Regions from separate parts of the Homo sapiens genome. Here regions 1 and 2 are each linked to region 3. The links are contacts of gene promoters, found by promoter capture Hi-C in blood cells and fetal thymus (Javierre and others, 2016). All regions are on one chromosome and are shown on one strand. Each heading gives the region's core, a stretch centred on a gene start or on the middle of the fragment in contact. The rest is flanking DNA. Distances are from core to core; before and after follow the strand shown.

Region 1 (4,314 bases), core at 888-3,387, 120 kb before region 3:
CCTGTCATTCAAGCACTTTGGGACCGGCGAGGTTGAGGCTGCTGAGCTATGATGGTGCCACTGCACTCCACTTTCGGCAACAGACCAAGACCTGTCTCAAAAAACAAAACAAAACAAAACAAAATAAAAACACCTGGTTTAGAATCAAACGCTTAAACTTTATGGATGAAAACTGCACGCCAACTTGTAAAAAGGAATCTGGCAACTGTGATGTAATCACTGATTCAGGCAATTCCTAACGGGTTAATTTGGAGAAGAAACAGGATGTTTGCAAAGTATCTCCCCACAACGTACTTGTTAATTATAAGAGAAAAACAGTAACTTTGCAGTGGAAAGCAGACATCACCCTAACCAAGTGATCAAAGTTAGTAACCACCACCAATAAAGGGCACAATGAAAGTGATGTAACTGCTGATACTATGCACCAAGGGCACGGCCCTCTTCAGCACTCCCGCCAAAAACACATGACCCAAGTTATCCTGAGAGGACTTCCAACAAGCCCAAGTGGAGGGACCGTCAATAGAATGAATGGCTTTTAGTCTTCCAAAAAGGTCAAGCTCAAGAAAGACAAACACTGAAAAACGGCTCTATTTTAAAGGAGACTAAAGAGACTCAACAACTAATGGAATGCCTGATCCTAGACTGAAAACCTGAACCAGAAACAATTTCTAAAATAATAATATATTTAAAATTCATAAAAATAATGTACAAATTATATATATTATTGGCTCAATTGGCAACATTTGATATACTATTATCTACAGATCTTACTCAGTATTAAGTTCCTGATTTTAATAATTGTACTTATATGTATAAGAGAATATTCCGGCCAGGCACAGTGGCTCATGCCTGTAATCCCAGCATTTTGGGACGCCGAGGTGGGCGGATCATCTGAGGTCAGGAGTTCAAGACCAGCCTGGCTAACATGGCAAAACCCCGTCTCTACTAAAAACACAAAAATTAGCCGGGCGTTGTGGCGCATGCCTGTAGTCCCAGCTACTTGGGAGGCTGAGGCAGGAGAACTGCTCTAACCCAGGAGGCGGAGGTTGCAGTGAGCCAAGATCGTGCCACTGAACTCCAGCCTGGGCAACAGAGTGAGACTCCATCTCAAAAATAAATAAATAAATAAAAAAGAATATCCCCGAGCTGGGCGTGGCGGCTCATGCTTGTAGTCCTAGCTACTTGGGAGGCTGAGTCAGAAGGATTGCTTGAGCCCAGGAGTTCAAGACCAACCTGGGCAACACAGCGTGAGACCCCACCTCAAAAGAAAAAAACAATGTTTTTAAGTCATAAAAACACTAAAATGTCAAGGAGTGAAAGGTATCACGTCTTCAACTTATTCTCAGTGTAGAAAAACAGTAATTACACAGCTAGAGATGCCTAGCTAGCTAGCCGGACAGGCAGGCAGGCAGTTGGGAGACAGAAGAGAATGGTACCAAAATTCATGTAACTTTTATGATAAAATATAAAACAAAAAGTAACTATGAAGATAGCTTGGTGGGGAGAAAGAGGGAGATGGCAGTAAAGCACATGGTGTAAAACTGAACACGTGGGGAATCTGGGTAGGGAGCTTAGGAATTCTGTGTACCAGCCTTCTAAGTTTCCGTTAAGTCTGACATTACTTAAAAATAAAGTTTTTAAGGCCGGGCGCAGTGGCTCACACCTGTAATCCCAGCACTTTGGGAGGCCAAGGAGGGTGGATCACTTGAATTCAGGGAGTTCGAGACCAGCCTGGCCAACATGGTGAAACCCCGTCTCTACTAAAAATACAAAAGTTATCCGGGCATGGTGGAGTGTGCCTGTAGTTCCAGCTACTCGAGAGGCTGAAGCAGGAGAACTGCTTGAACCCGGAGGCTGAGGCTGCAGTGAGCTGAGATCGTGCCACTGCACTCCAGCCTGGGCGACAGAGTGAGACTCCACCTCAAAAAAAAATACTAAAATAAAATAAACAAAGTTTTTAAAAAACCCAACCCAGAGTTACAGTAGAGTGGAAAAATGATAAAAGGAGCTCTTAACAGTTATTAACATATTTTGTAAGTAATTTAAGCAAGTGAAGAAAAAACTGAATTGCTTTCACTTCTAAAATGTCTCCTGACTCAGTGTTCTCCGTAAATTGCGTAAAAGATTCCTTTCTAATACCACGACACTAGCTAAAATTTAATCTCACCCACCTTCCCATATACTCTCAAGAACCCGCACTGGATGTCAGTTTTCCTGTCTCACTAGCAGTACTGTTCAATTCATTTACCAAAAAATGCCTCCGCATTTTCCTGAAGTCTGCCGGTATGGGTTCTGCCACCCGCTGGGCATGCGGCCTTGGGTAAATCGCTTCACTCTGAGCCTGTTTCCTACAGTGCTGTCATGGTGATGCCTGCCTCATGGGGGAATTAAACAGATGGGTCAGTTCGGGCATGAGAAACACTTGAGACAGTGCATGGCACCAAAATTCATGTAACTTTTATGATAAAATATAAAACAAAAAGTAACTATGAAGAAAACTTGGCCAGGCGCGGTGGCTCATGCCTGTAATCCCAGCACGTTGGGAGGCTGAGGCGGGCGGATCACCTGAGGTCAGGAGTTTGAGACCAGCCTGGCCAACTTGGTGAAACCCGTCTCTACTAAAAATATAAACATCAGCCAGGCATGGTGGAGCGTGCCTGTAGTTCCAGCTACTTGGGAGGCTGAAGCAGGAGAATTACTTGAACCTGGGAGGCAGAGGTTACAGCGAGCCCAGATGGCACCACTGCACTCCAGCCTGGGCGACAGAGACAGACTCCCTCTCGGGACAAAACAAAAAACAAACAAAAAAAAAACTCAAAACTTAAAACCTCAAATATAGAATGTAATACTAACAGAAGTCTAATGATTAAAAACACTAATCCTATCTTAGAAAAAAAAATTGTTCTGGTTCTTGGTTGTCATGATAGTAAACAACTACAGATAACCCAAACGCCCCTTGGCTAAATGAGAGTCCCTCTACCCGATGAGTATTCTGCAGCTACTGGAAATCATGGCGTGCTGTGATTGAAAGGGCATTCTGTTATATAACACTGTCAACAGAATAGAACAGGATTCAGAAGCATATAGAAAAGTACGATCTTGTGTTTACAAGATACTTAACATGTTATGTGCACACAGACAAAAGTGAGGAAGTGTTAGGCTCTTTGAGGGGCAGGGCATGGAAGACTCCCTCAGGTGTGGTGGCTCCTGCTGGACACACGCCAGCAGGCTGGAGCCGGGGCCTTCTCGTTAATTCCTCTATGGCTGGGTCTCTCCCAGGCTTGCTTCCTCATCTGTAAGATTCTGGCTGTGTCGTGGCTGCTCACCATGACCTTTCAGCTTCTTTTCCACGCTAACTCGATAATCCTTGTATTTCCTAGGTTACGCTCCCAAGAATGGAAATTTCATTGGCCCAGTTCATCTTTTCTTGCGAGATGTGTTATAGATTACTGGCCAAGATATAGATTTGCTTGACAAGGGCAAGGAGGGGCAGGTACAGCTGCCAGATAACCTCTGAAAATTTCTGTAGAACCAGTGGAGAAATGAGACAAAAGAAGGCTTTCTGTTGAGCTGTAACTCCCTCTGGCATGGGGAACCTGTTATTAAACATAACACAGAACATAAATACCTGAATAGCTTATTTGTATACAAATTATCATTACAAAAGGATCACAAAGTAACATTTAGTAGTCCTACAAAACATTAAACATGTAACAGAGAGAAACTAAAAACTGAAGTATTCCAAACAATCAACAGTCAAACAAGAATAAATCTAAAATTCTAATGAAAGAAAGGCACATCTCTGACCAGGTACAGTGGCTCACACCTGTAATCCCAGCACTGTAGGAGGCTGAGGCGGGTGGATCACCTGAGTTCAGGAGTTCGAGACCAGCCTGACCAATATGATGAAACCCTGTCTCTACTACAATTACAAAAATTAGCTGGGCGTGGTGGCATGCGCCTGTAATCCCAGCTACTTGGGAGGCTGAGACAGGGCAATGGCTTGAACCCAGGAGGTGGAGGTTGCAGTGAGCTGAGATCCCGCCATTGCACTCGAGCCTGGACAAGAGTGAAACTCCGTCTCAAAAAAAAAAAAAAAGGCACATTTCTGTGGCTGGATTTTCATTTCCATTTTACTCAACAGAAAGCTAAAATACTGAGCAACTGACAGTCCTAGGGTGACATAACCACATCCCAACAATTAGAGAGCGGTGGCACAAAGAAGGGGATTGATTACTGGTATAAAACATGGCGCAGAGTTTGGAAACAGGCTGAGAAAGGGGGCCCTACAACTGACCTCTTCAATACAACACC
Region 2 (4,685 bases), core at 151-2,650, 89 kb before region 3:
GTGGTGTTGGGTGCCTGTAGTCCCAGCTACTCGGGAGGCTGAGGCAGGAGAATCGTTTGAACCCAAGAGGCAGAGGTTGCAGTGAGCACAGATCACACCATTGCACTCTAGCCTGGGCCACAGGGCGAGACTCCATCTCAAAAATAAATAAATAAATAAATAAAGATTTTATTAAATTCAAAAGCAATTAGTTTAGAAATAATTTTTAAACTTAAAGTGATATTTAGGCTGGGTGCAGTGGCTCACGCCTGTAATCCCAGAACTTTGGGAGGCTGAAGAGGGCAGATTACTTGAGGTCTGAAGTTTGAGACCAGCCTGGTCAATATGGTGAAACCCTGTCTCTACTAAAAATACAAAAATTAGCTGGGCATGGTGGCATGTGCTTGTAATCCCAGCTACGTGGGAGGCTGAGGCAGGAGAATTGCTTGAACCCGGAAGGTGGAGGTTGCAGTGAGCCAAGACTGTGCCACTGCACTCCAGCCTGAGCAACAGAGCGAGACTCCATCTCAGAAAAATAATAAAAATAATGAAGTGATATGTAGTAGAGAAGGCAATATAGTGAAAAGGCAAGAGCAGTCTTGTAGGATTCATTCAAAAGATCTGGCATTCTAGGCTCGCTGTGGTGGCTCATGCCTGTAATCCCAGCACTTTGGGAGACCAAGGTGAAAGGATCACTTGGGGTCAGGAGTTCAAGACCAGCCTGTCCAACATGGCAAAACCCCGTCTCTACTAAAAGTACAAAAAAATTAACTGGGCATGGTGGCACGTGTCTGTAGTCCCAGCTACTCCGGAAGGTGAGGCATGAGAATCATTTGAACCCAGGAGGTGGAGGTTGCAGTGAACCAAGATCATGCCACTGCACTCCTCTAGCCTGATCAACAGAGCGAGAGTCTGTCTCAAAAAACAAACGAAAAATCTGCGGGCCGGGCACAGTGGCTGTCACCTGTAATCTCAACACTTTAGGAGGCCAAGATGGGAGGATCGCTTGAGGCCAGGAGTTTGAGACCAGCCTGGTCAACATAGCGAGACCCCAGCGACCCCATCTCTATCTTTACTTTTTTTATTTTATTTTATTTTATTTTATTTTATTTTATTTTATTTTATTTTGAGATGGAGTCTTGCTCTGTTGCCCAGGCTGGAGTGTAGTGGTGCGATTTTGGCTCACTGCCACCTCCGCCTCCCGTGTTCAAGCGGTTCTCCTGCCTCAGCCTCCCAAGTAGCTGGGATTACAGGCACCTGCCACCACACCCGGCTAATTTTTGTATTTTTAGTAGAGATGGGGTTTCATCATCTTGGCCAGGATTGTCATGAACTCCTGACCTCATGATCCACCCGCCTCGGCCTCCCAAAGTGATGGGATTACAGGCGTGAGCCACCACGCCTGGCCACTTTTTTTATTTTTATTTATTTATTTATTTATTTTTGAGACGGAGTCTCGCTCTGTTGCCCAGGCGGGACTGTGGACTGCAGTGGCGCAATCTCGGCTCACTGCAAGCTCCGCTTCCCAGGTTCACGCCATTCTCCTGCCTCAGCCTCCCGAGTAGCTGGGACTACAGGCGCCCGCCACCGCGCCTGGCTAATTTTTTGTATTTTTAGTAGAGACGGGGTTTCACCTTGTTAGCCAGGATGGTCTCGATCTCCTGACCTCATGATCCACCCGCCTCGGCCTCCCAAAGTGCTGGGATTACAGGCGTGAGCCACCGCGCCCGGCCCTTTTTTTATTTTTTATGTTTATTTTTGGAGACAGAGTTTCACTCTTGTTGCTGGAGAGCAATGCAGTCTCGGCTCACTGCAACCTCTGCCTCCCAGGTTCAATTGATTCTCCTGCCTCAGCCTCCCGAGTAGCTGGAATTACAGGCATGCACCACCACACTAGGCTAATTTTTGTATTATTAGTAGAGACGGGATTTCACCGTCTTGACCAGGCTGGTCTCAAACTCCTGACCTCAGGTGATCCACTCCTTGGCCTCCCAAAGTCCTGAGACTACAGGCATGAGCCACTGCGTCCCGCCTATCTTTTTAATTTTTTTTTGAGATGGAGTCTCACTCTGTCACCCAGGCTGGAGTGCAATGGCATGATTTCCGCTCACTGCATCCTCCGCCTCCCGGGTTCAAGCAATTCTCCTGCCTCAGCCTCCTGAGTAGCTGGGATTATAGGCGCCTACCACACGGCCGGCTAATTCGGCTTATTTTTGTGTTTTTAGTGGAGAATTACTTGAACCCAGGAGGCAGAGGTTGCACTGAGTGGTGCCACTGCACTCTAACCTGGGCTTAGAGAGTGAGACTCCGTCTCAAAAAAAAAAAAAATAAAAAGAGGAACATGGAAATTAACTTCCCTTGCTTTTAACTTAAGATGAGGAGTAAATAATTATATAGCCTAAAGCTACCTGCACCAATTACAGTAAAAACTATTTGTCTTATTTATTACAATACACAAAGTCCTAGTCTGTATAAGCTATACTCATTATTTTACCCCAAAAAGAAAAAATTTGGTCAGGCCCGGTGGCTCACGCCTGTAATCTCAGCACTTTGGGAGGCTGAGGTGGGCAGATCACTTGAGGCCAGGAGTTTGAGACCAGCCTGGCCAACATGGTGAAATCCTGTCTCTACTAAAAATACAAAAAGTAGCCGGCATGGTGGCGTGCACCTGTAATCCCAGCTACTCAGGAGGTTGAAGCAGGAGAATCATTGAACCCAGGAGGCAGAGGTTGCAGTGAGATCACACAACTGCACTCCAATGGGGGTGAGAGAGTGAGACTCTGTCTCACAAAAAATAAAAATAAAAAAAAAGAAGGAAAGAAAAAAATTTTCCTTTTTATGAATACAACTGTGGGATTGACATTGTTTTCCAATTTGATTTCCCCAATCATATTTTTCCCCATATTTTGGGGAATAATAATATGAATAATAATTTTCATATTATTCCCCCATAAATATTTACTAAACAGTTACTATGTTTTAAGCATTGTTGTAAGAGTTGAAGACCTAGAAATTCCTATGAACTTCAAATCTATTATGTGTATACTTTCATTATTTTTAAAGTTAATCAGGTTTCCCTATCACCTTCTATCTTCATTAACGACAACTGAAGCAGAGTCTGTGAGATTCTTGTCTTTGCGTGGCTGAAAAACTAAAAGGTTTTTGGACATTTAGTAGGAAGAGACCTGTTGGTGAAAAAGGAAAAGGATGGGGGGCACCCTGTGACAACTGTGGTTATTCTTGCATAGAGATGGATATGATTATGCTGTTAGGTTTAATCATGCTAAAAAACATGGCATTCCTGGTAAATCGCAGTCAGTCCAGAAGACAGCTTCTGACGTGCCCTCCTAAACCACAGAAACATTAGCTAATGTGTGATGACCTCTAAAAACATTCTGGCTGCGCTGGGCGCGGTGGCTCACGCCTGTAATCCCAGCACTTTGGGAGGCCGAGGTGGGCAGATCACGAGGTCAGGAGATCGGGACCATCCTGGCTAACACGGTGAAACCCCATCTCTACTAAAAATACAAAAATTTAGCCGGGTGTGGTGGCAGACGCCTGTAATCCCAGCTACTCGGGAGGCTGAGGCAGGAGAATGGCATGAACCCGGGAGGCAGAGCTGGCAGTGAGCCGAGATCGCGCCACTGCACTCTAGCCTGGGTGACAGAGCGAGACTCCATCTCAAAAAAAAAAAAAAATTCTGGCTGCACACACCAACATGGAACACGTATACATATGTAACAAACCTGCACGTTGTGCGCTTGTACCCTGGAACTTAAAAGTATAATTAAAAAAATCAAAAAACAAAACAAAACGACAACAACAACAAAAATATTCTGGCTGCAGTGGCTCATGTCTATAATCTCAGCACTTTGGGAGGCCGAGGCAGGAGGATTGATTGAGCCCAGGGTTTCAAGAACAGCCTGAGCAAAATAGTGAGACCCTGTCTCTACGGAAAAAAAAAACATAGCCAGGTGTGATAGTACATGCCTGCGGCCTCAGCTACATGGGGGGCTGAGGCGGGAGGATCAGTTTAGCTTGGGAGTTCTGGGCTATAGTTCACTATGCCAACTGGGTATTCACACTAGGTTCAACATCAGTATGGTGACCTCCTGGGAGCAGAGAACCAGGAGGTTGCCCAACGAGGGGTGAATGGGTTCAGGTCAGAAACAGAAGAGTCAAAGGTCCTATGCTGATCAGCAATGGCATTCTGCCTGTGAATAGCCACTGCACTCTGCCTGGGCAACATAGCAAGACCTCATCTCTAAAAAGTAGTAAATAAATAAATAAAAATAAAAACACTCTGATCTAATGGCCCATCCCTGCCAGACTAAATAACAGGAGTTAGCAAGCTTCTTAATTAATGGTAGAAAAGACAAATCTCCAGAAACAATCTATTGCAAAGGTTGGGAACTGTGGAAATGTCTCTAATAGTTACAGGCCCCAAATTAGTCCCCTGGCCTTGTGAGCGCATCTCATGTGCCCATTTGAAACTCAACTGCAATCAAATTTCCTGGCTAAAGGCTGGATGGTGAAGTGTAAAAAATAGTGTCTTCACCTTAAAATTCATAACAAATGGCACAGAGTAGCATTTCTTTTTTTTTTTTTTTTGAGACGGAGTCTCACTTTGTCACCCAGACTGGAGTGCAGTGGCGTGATCTCGCCTCACTGCAACCTCTGCCCCTGGGTTCAAGCGACTCTCATTC
Region 3 (4,566 bases), core at 1,301-3,800:
GGCTCTGTTTCAGTGGCTGTCCCCCCACCTTCACCTTTCCTAGTTATACATCACAGCATCTTTGTCTGTAGAATTCTGGGGGTGGGAGGTGTGACCCTGAGGGCCCCACATCTTCCTCGGTGCACAGTCCCCCAGCACCCACCTCCCCAGAACCCCCACCTGCACCTGCACTGCCTGGCCTTCCTTCCTTAGCAAGACAGAATTCCTGACAGCCCCAGGGGTTAGGAACAGCTGCATGTGAAGCCCACAGCGGCCTTTCTGAAGCTTTACCCAAGTTCTGCTCCCTGGAGCCACATGGAAGGAAGTTCTGCCTGACAGCCTTTCCAGCACCCTGGGAAGCTGCCGATTTATTTTCTTTACCCCTGACTTCACTTATCTAGGATCCCAACAGAGACTGACAAAGCCAGAGACCCTGATGGTTTAGGATTCCAAGGTTTCTTATGCCTCTAGCTGCTCAGCCAGGAGCTTTCTTGATTTTGTGTTTTTCAAATGAGAAGCATCTTACCAGCTAAGTAAGTCTAAGAGTGTCATGACTCATGGACCTTGGAAACCAATGGTCAGTAGTTTGGGATTCTTTGGGTGGATCAAGAGATTTTCTTGGGGACCTAGGAGCACCTCGATGTGTGGAGGGCCTGAGCAGATGGACTAGTGCCCTCCTCTGGATGGAATTGGAGGTTCCCCTTACGCCCCAATCCCTCCACCCCTGCCCTGGGGCTTTTTTTTTTTTTTCTTTTTTTGCTTGGTGGAATGGGAGAGTACTTTTCAAAGTTACAGTTACATAGAAAAGTTAAAATCACAGCACTATTGCATATCTGAGTGCCAAGAATTACGTTTGTCTTGCTGCAGGTGAGGGAAATGAGGTCACTTCTCAAGAAGTTTGCATTTTCTGAGAAAATGTGGACACAATGGAAAAGCCAAGGCATAAAACCATACACCTGAGAAGGCTGAAGCAAATTGCTCCAGGACTTACAGCACAGTGGGTACGTGTTCCGCAGGTGAGAGGCAGCCTCTGCAGAGGCTGACAAGTCCTTTTTGGATGACACTGTGACTCAGCCCTCATATTCCCCTCTCCAGGGCGATGATCCACCTGGTGCTGTGGCTGCTGAGATTCTAGTCATCCTACTCGCTCTAGGCTGGTGTGATTCTTTTGTTTGTTTGTTTGTTTGAGATAAGTCTCGCTCTGACGCCCAGGCTGGAATGCAATGGTTTGATCTCAGCTCACTGCAGCCTCTGCCTTCCGGGTCCAAGCGATTCTTGTGCCTCAGGCTCCTGAGTACTGGGACTATAGGCGCCCAACAACACAACTGGCTAATTTTTGAATTTTTAGTAGAGACGGGTTTCACCATATTGGCCAGGCTGGTTTCGAACTCCTGACCTCAAGTGATCCGCCCACCTCGGCCTCCCCAAGTCCTGGGACTACAGACCTGAGCCACTGCGCCTGGCCTAGACTGGTGTCATTCTGACATTTCCAGGCCACGAAGCAGTCCCAGACTCAGCAGCCCTGGGCATCTGCCGTAGCCCTGTTGTATGATCTGCTCTGCCACTCATGAGGCATGACTCACCCTCCTACCCTCTCCGAGCCTCAGTTTACTCATTTAAATCTCAAAGCCTCCACAGATAATTGGGAAATGAAAGGAAAATCGTGTAAGTATGAATACCTTCCACAGATAGCGGGATCTCATTAATACTAGTTTTCCCCTTTCCATACCTCCCAGCAAAGAAAAGTTGGTAACTGCAGGCCTCTGAACTAGTGCCCCACATCGGAGATACCGGCCACTTCTTACTGAACATTTGCCTGTGTCTACTATAAGGATATAAGATCATCTCAACCTCCCAAGAAGCCGATATTAGCACCCCCATTTTTGCAGCTAAAGAAACTTAGGTGCAGAAAAATGAAATAGCATATTCAAGGTCACAGAATGACCTGGGGCAGAGCTACAGTCTAGACCCCCATCTGTCTGATATAAACCCCATTCTATGAACCCTCAACATTGCTACTCCCCTTCCAACGCCACTGGAGCAGAAAGCTCCAAAACTGGGTGAAGCACATACAGCTCTATAGCAGGCAACCCCATTCCTGTGTTCCACCTAGTGAAGAACCAGGAGGTTGTGCATGACCAAGGTGGTTCAGGGTGAAGGTCAGGGGCTGGCTGAAAATGGAAGGCATCTCAGGCTGGGTCTTTGACTGTGATTATGTCAGGGTTGGGGCTGAAATATTGTGAGTGGTAACTGAGGTTTCAACCTCTTCCCTAGGAAAGAGTGGGGGTGGGGTGGTGAAGCTGGTTAATTGAGATGGGAGGGTTGGGGTGGGGGCAGGCAGAGCCTTCCAAGGCCTTCAGATCCGGTGCTGTTACCGTAAACAAGTGCAACCCTCAGCTCCCTGGAGGGCCTGGGGAGCAAATGCGTGCATCCCTGCTTCGTTCCCAGCAGCTGTTCACTGGAGGACGCAGCCTGCCATCCCCAGCCGACCTCCTCCACAGCCTTCCCCAGCCCCCAGATCAAGCCTCAGGAAGTGGCGCTGCTGAGAATCTCTCCTCCAGCCCTGCCTCCTGCCGAGAGTGTCTTCAGCGCCAGCATTTCCTGGCCTAATTAAGCTGGGTAATGAGTAGCTAAGAGGAGGGGATAAAAGCCCTAGGCGGCTTAGAGCTGGGACAGTTTATGACAGGGGCGTCTGCAGCTGGTGACATTCCTAGGAAAATTATTTCTCATAACCCTGGGAAGTTGCATGCTGTTTCCTTAGCAGCAGAGTAAGCCTCAAAGGTGAGCATGGGGAACACTGCATCTTAAGGGGGCCTGACTGGAGGGTCCTAAAGGTGACAGGTGGGGGGTGCCATGTGTCTGTAGGACTGATCAGAGCTGCAGAGCAGCTACAGGCCACCCGGGCTAATGCCCTTAGCTTAGTCCGAGGCCGGGGCATCCGTGGTGGCCACGTGACTCCCCAGGGCTTGGGTTTTGTGTTTCTTCTGAATGATAGGACTCTGCACAGCATGCAGTTTCTAAGACCGTATCCTTTCAGGGAAGGAAATCTGAGCTAGAGGCTCTGATCCTGACTCCTCCGCAGCCCACTATTAAGGGTGTGAAAATTGTGTTTTGGAAAATATCAGGTGCCCCAGCAGCCAGGAGTGGGTAGAAGAGCTCTCAGACAGGGGCCCTGGGGGAAAGGGGAAGGTGGGCACCAGGCGCTCTGGACACCAGGGCCCGCCCTTCCAGAGACACTCAGGAGCCCAGCGTTGATTATCCCCACTCCCACTCTGCAGCCACAGCCTCAGCCCCCAAATTCTCCTTCTTTGGCACTCAGTTTTGTTTGTTTGTTTTTTGTGTCAGTTCTGTTTGTTTTTGTTTTCTTCAGTCACCTTGCACTCCTTCCTTAGTTGGCCAGGGAACTTCGTGCTGTATGGGGTGGAGCAGGGCAAGGCCCAGGCTCTGGAGCTCGGCCCATCCCCACGTCTCTGAGTGAACTTGGGAGATCAGGTGACCTCTCAGCCATGGTTTTCCCATTTGTAGAATGAAGGCATTAGTGATGTCTAGTGTCCAGTATGTTATGAACCGCAACCTCCACTTGGCCTGTGAGTGGCGAGCGAGGCTGAAATTGGGCCATGTTTCCCAGACCTTTCAAATTAGGTTACCCAGTTTCACCCAAGAACATTTTTGCCCCAATTATCCTGTAAAGCAGAGTCATAGCTAGTGAGTATGTATTTTATTATTATTATTACTGTTATTATTAGAAACAGGGTCTCATTCTGTCATCCAGGCTGGAATGCCATGGTGTGAACATGGTTCGACCTCCCGGGCCCAAGCAATCCTCCCACCTCAGCCACCCGAATGGCTGGGACCACAGACACGTCACCACACCCAGCTAATTTTTGGTATTTTTTGTAGAGACTGGGTTTCACCATGCTGCCCAGGCTGGTCTCAAACTCTTGGGCCCAAGCGATCCTCCTGCCTTTGCCTCCCAAAGTGCTGGGATTACAAGCGTGAGTCACTTCGCCTGGCTGAATACCTGTTTTTGATGATGGAAGGGCCCATTCTCCTGCACTCTTGTAATCAATATTTGTTCTTTTCCAATTTTCTAAACAAGACCTGTCTGGTGCAATGTCCTCCGAGCCCCGCTTCCTCCACGGCTGGAGCCGGGAGCGGCAGGGAATGTGTGGGCATTCCGTCTTTCCTTCTGATCGCCGCCCTTCACCCTCTGCCCTTGGCTGTTCCCACAGTCCCATCTATTCCCCTGGCCTCCTGCTTGTCTCTCTAAACGAGGAGTGAGTATGCAGATCACAAATAACCTGGTGTTTCCGTTTTTCCCTCTGGCGGTGGTTGCCCCTGGAGTGGAAGGAGACCTGGTGGCCAGATGCCTGACATGGCCGGGACAGCTGGTGCTCTCAGCATTCCTGGGGAAGGTCCCTGGGGATTGGACTTGAGGGGATCACACCAAGAAGAGGGGTGAGCAGGCCTGGCAGCTCACCCCTGTGACCCAGCTCACCTCTGGCTGGGCTGCCTGGCATGATCCCCCGGCCCGGCCGGCAGCAGCTGCGCAGGCCAGGGGAGCCAAATGGCTCTGCATGTGTAATC

Evidence for each region. Contacts are between HindIII fragments. The CHiCAGO score rates a contact against its expected background, and 5 or more counts as called.
Region 1: a fragment that was not itself captured here is called in contact with the fragment with the promoter of CECR3 in region 3 in 3 of 17 cell types (M2 macrophages, activated CD4 T cells and M1 macrophages); the score reaches 7.9 in M2 macrophages.
Region 2: a contact is called between a fragment that was not itself captured here and the fragment with the promoter of CECR3 in region 3, in 4 of 17 cell types (M1 macrophages, M2 macrophages, M0 macrophages and 1 more). The highest score is 8.5, in M1 macrophages.

What each region holds. Positions count from the first base shown.
Region 1 is chr22:17,386,441-17,390,754 of GRCh38, reverse strand. The region is part of intron 1 of CECR2 (CECR2 histone acetyl-lysine reader); the gene reads right to left. Among named protein-coding and RNA genes, the nearest start is that of CECR2, 19 kb to the right of the region's middle. The HindIII fragment of the contact is 4,579 bases long and covers 1-4,314 here.
Region 2 is chr22:17,352,441-17,357,125 of GRCh38, reverse strand. It overlaps the pseudogene RN7SL843P. Among named protein-coding and RNA genes, the nearest start is that of CECR2, 15 kb to the left of the region's middle. The HindIII fragment of the contact is 5,867 bases long and covers 1-4,333 here.
Region 3 is chr22:17,264,717-17,269,282 of GRCh38, reverse strand. It overlaps CECR3 (cat eye syndrome chromosome region, candidate 3), which reads left to right and starts at 2,550. Exons shown (of 3, transcript NR_038398.2): 1 at 2,550-2,760. RefSeq lists an enhancer at 4,101-4,566. The HindIII fragment of the contact is 21,393 bases long and covers 267-4,566 here.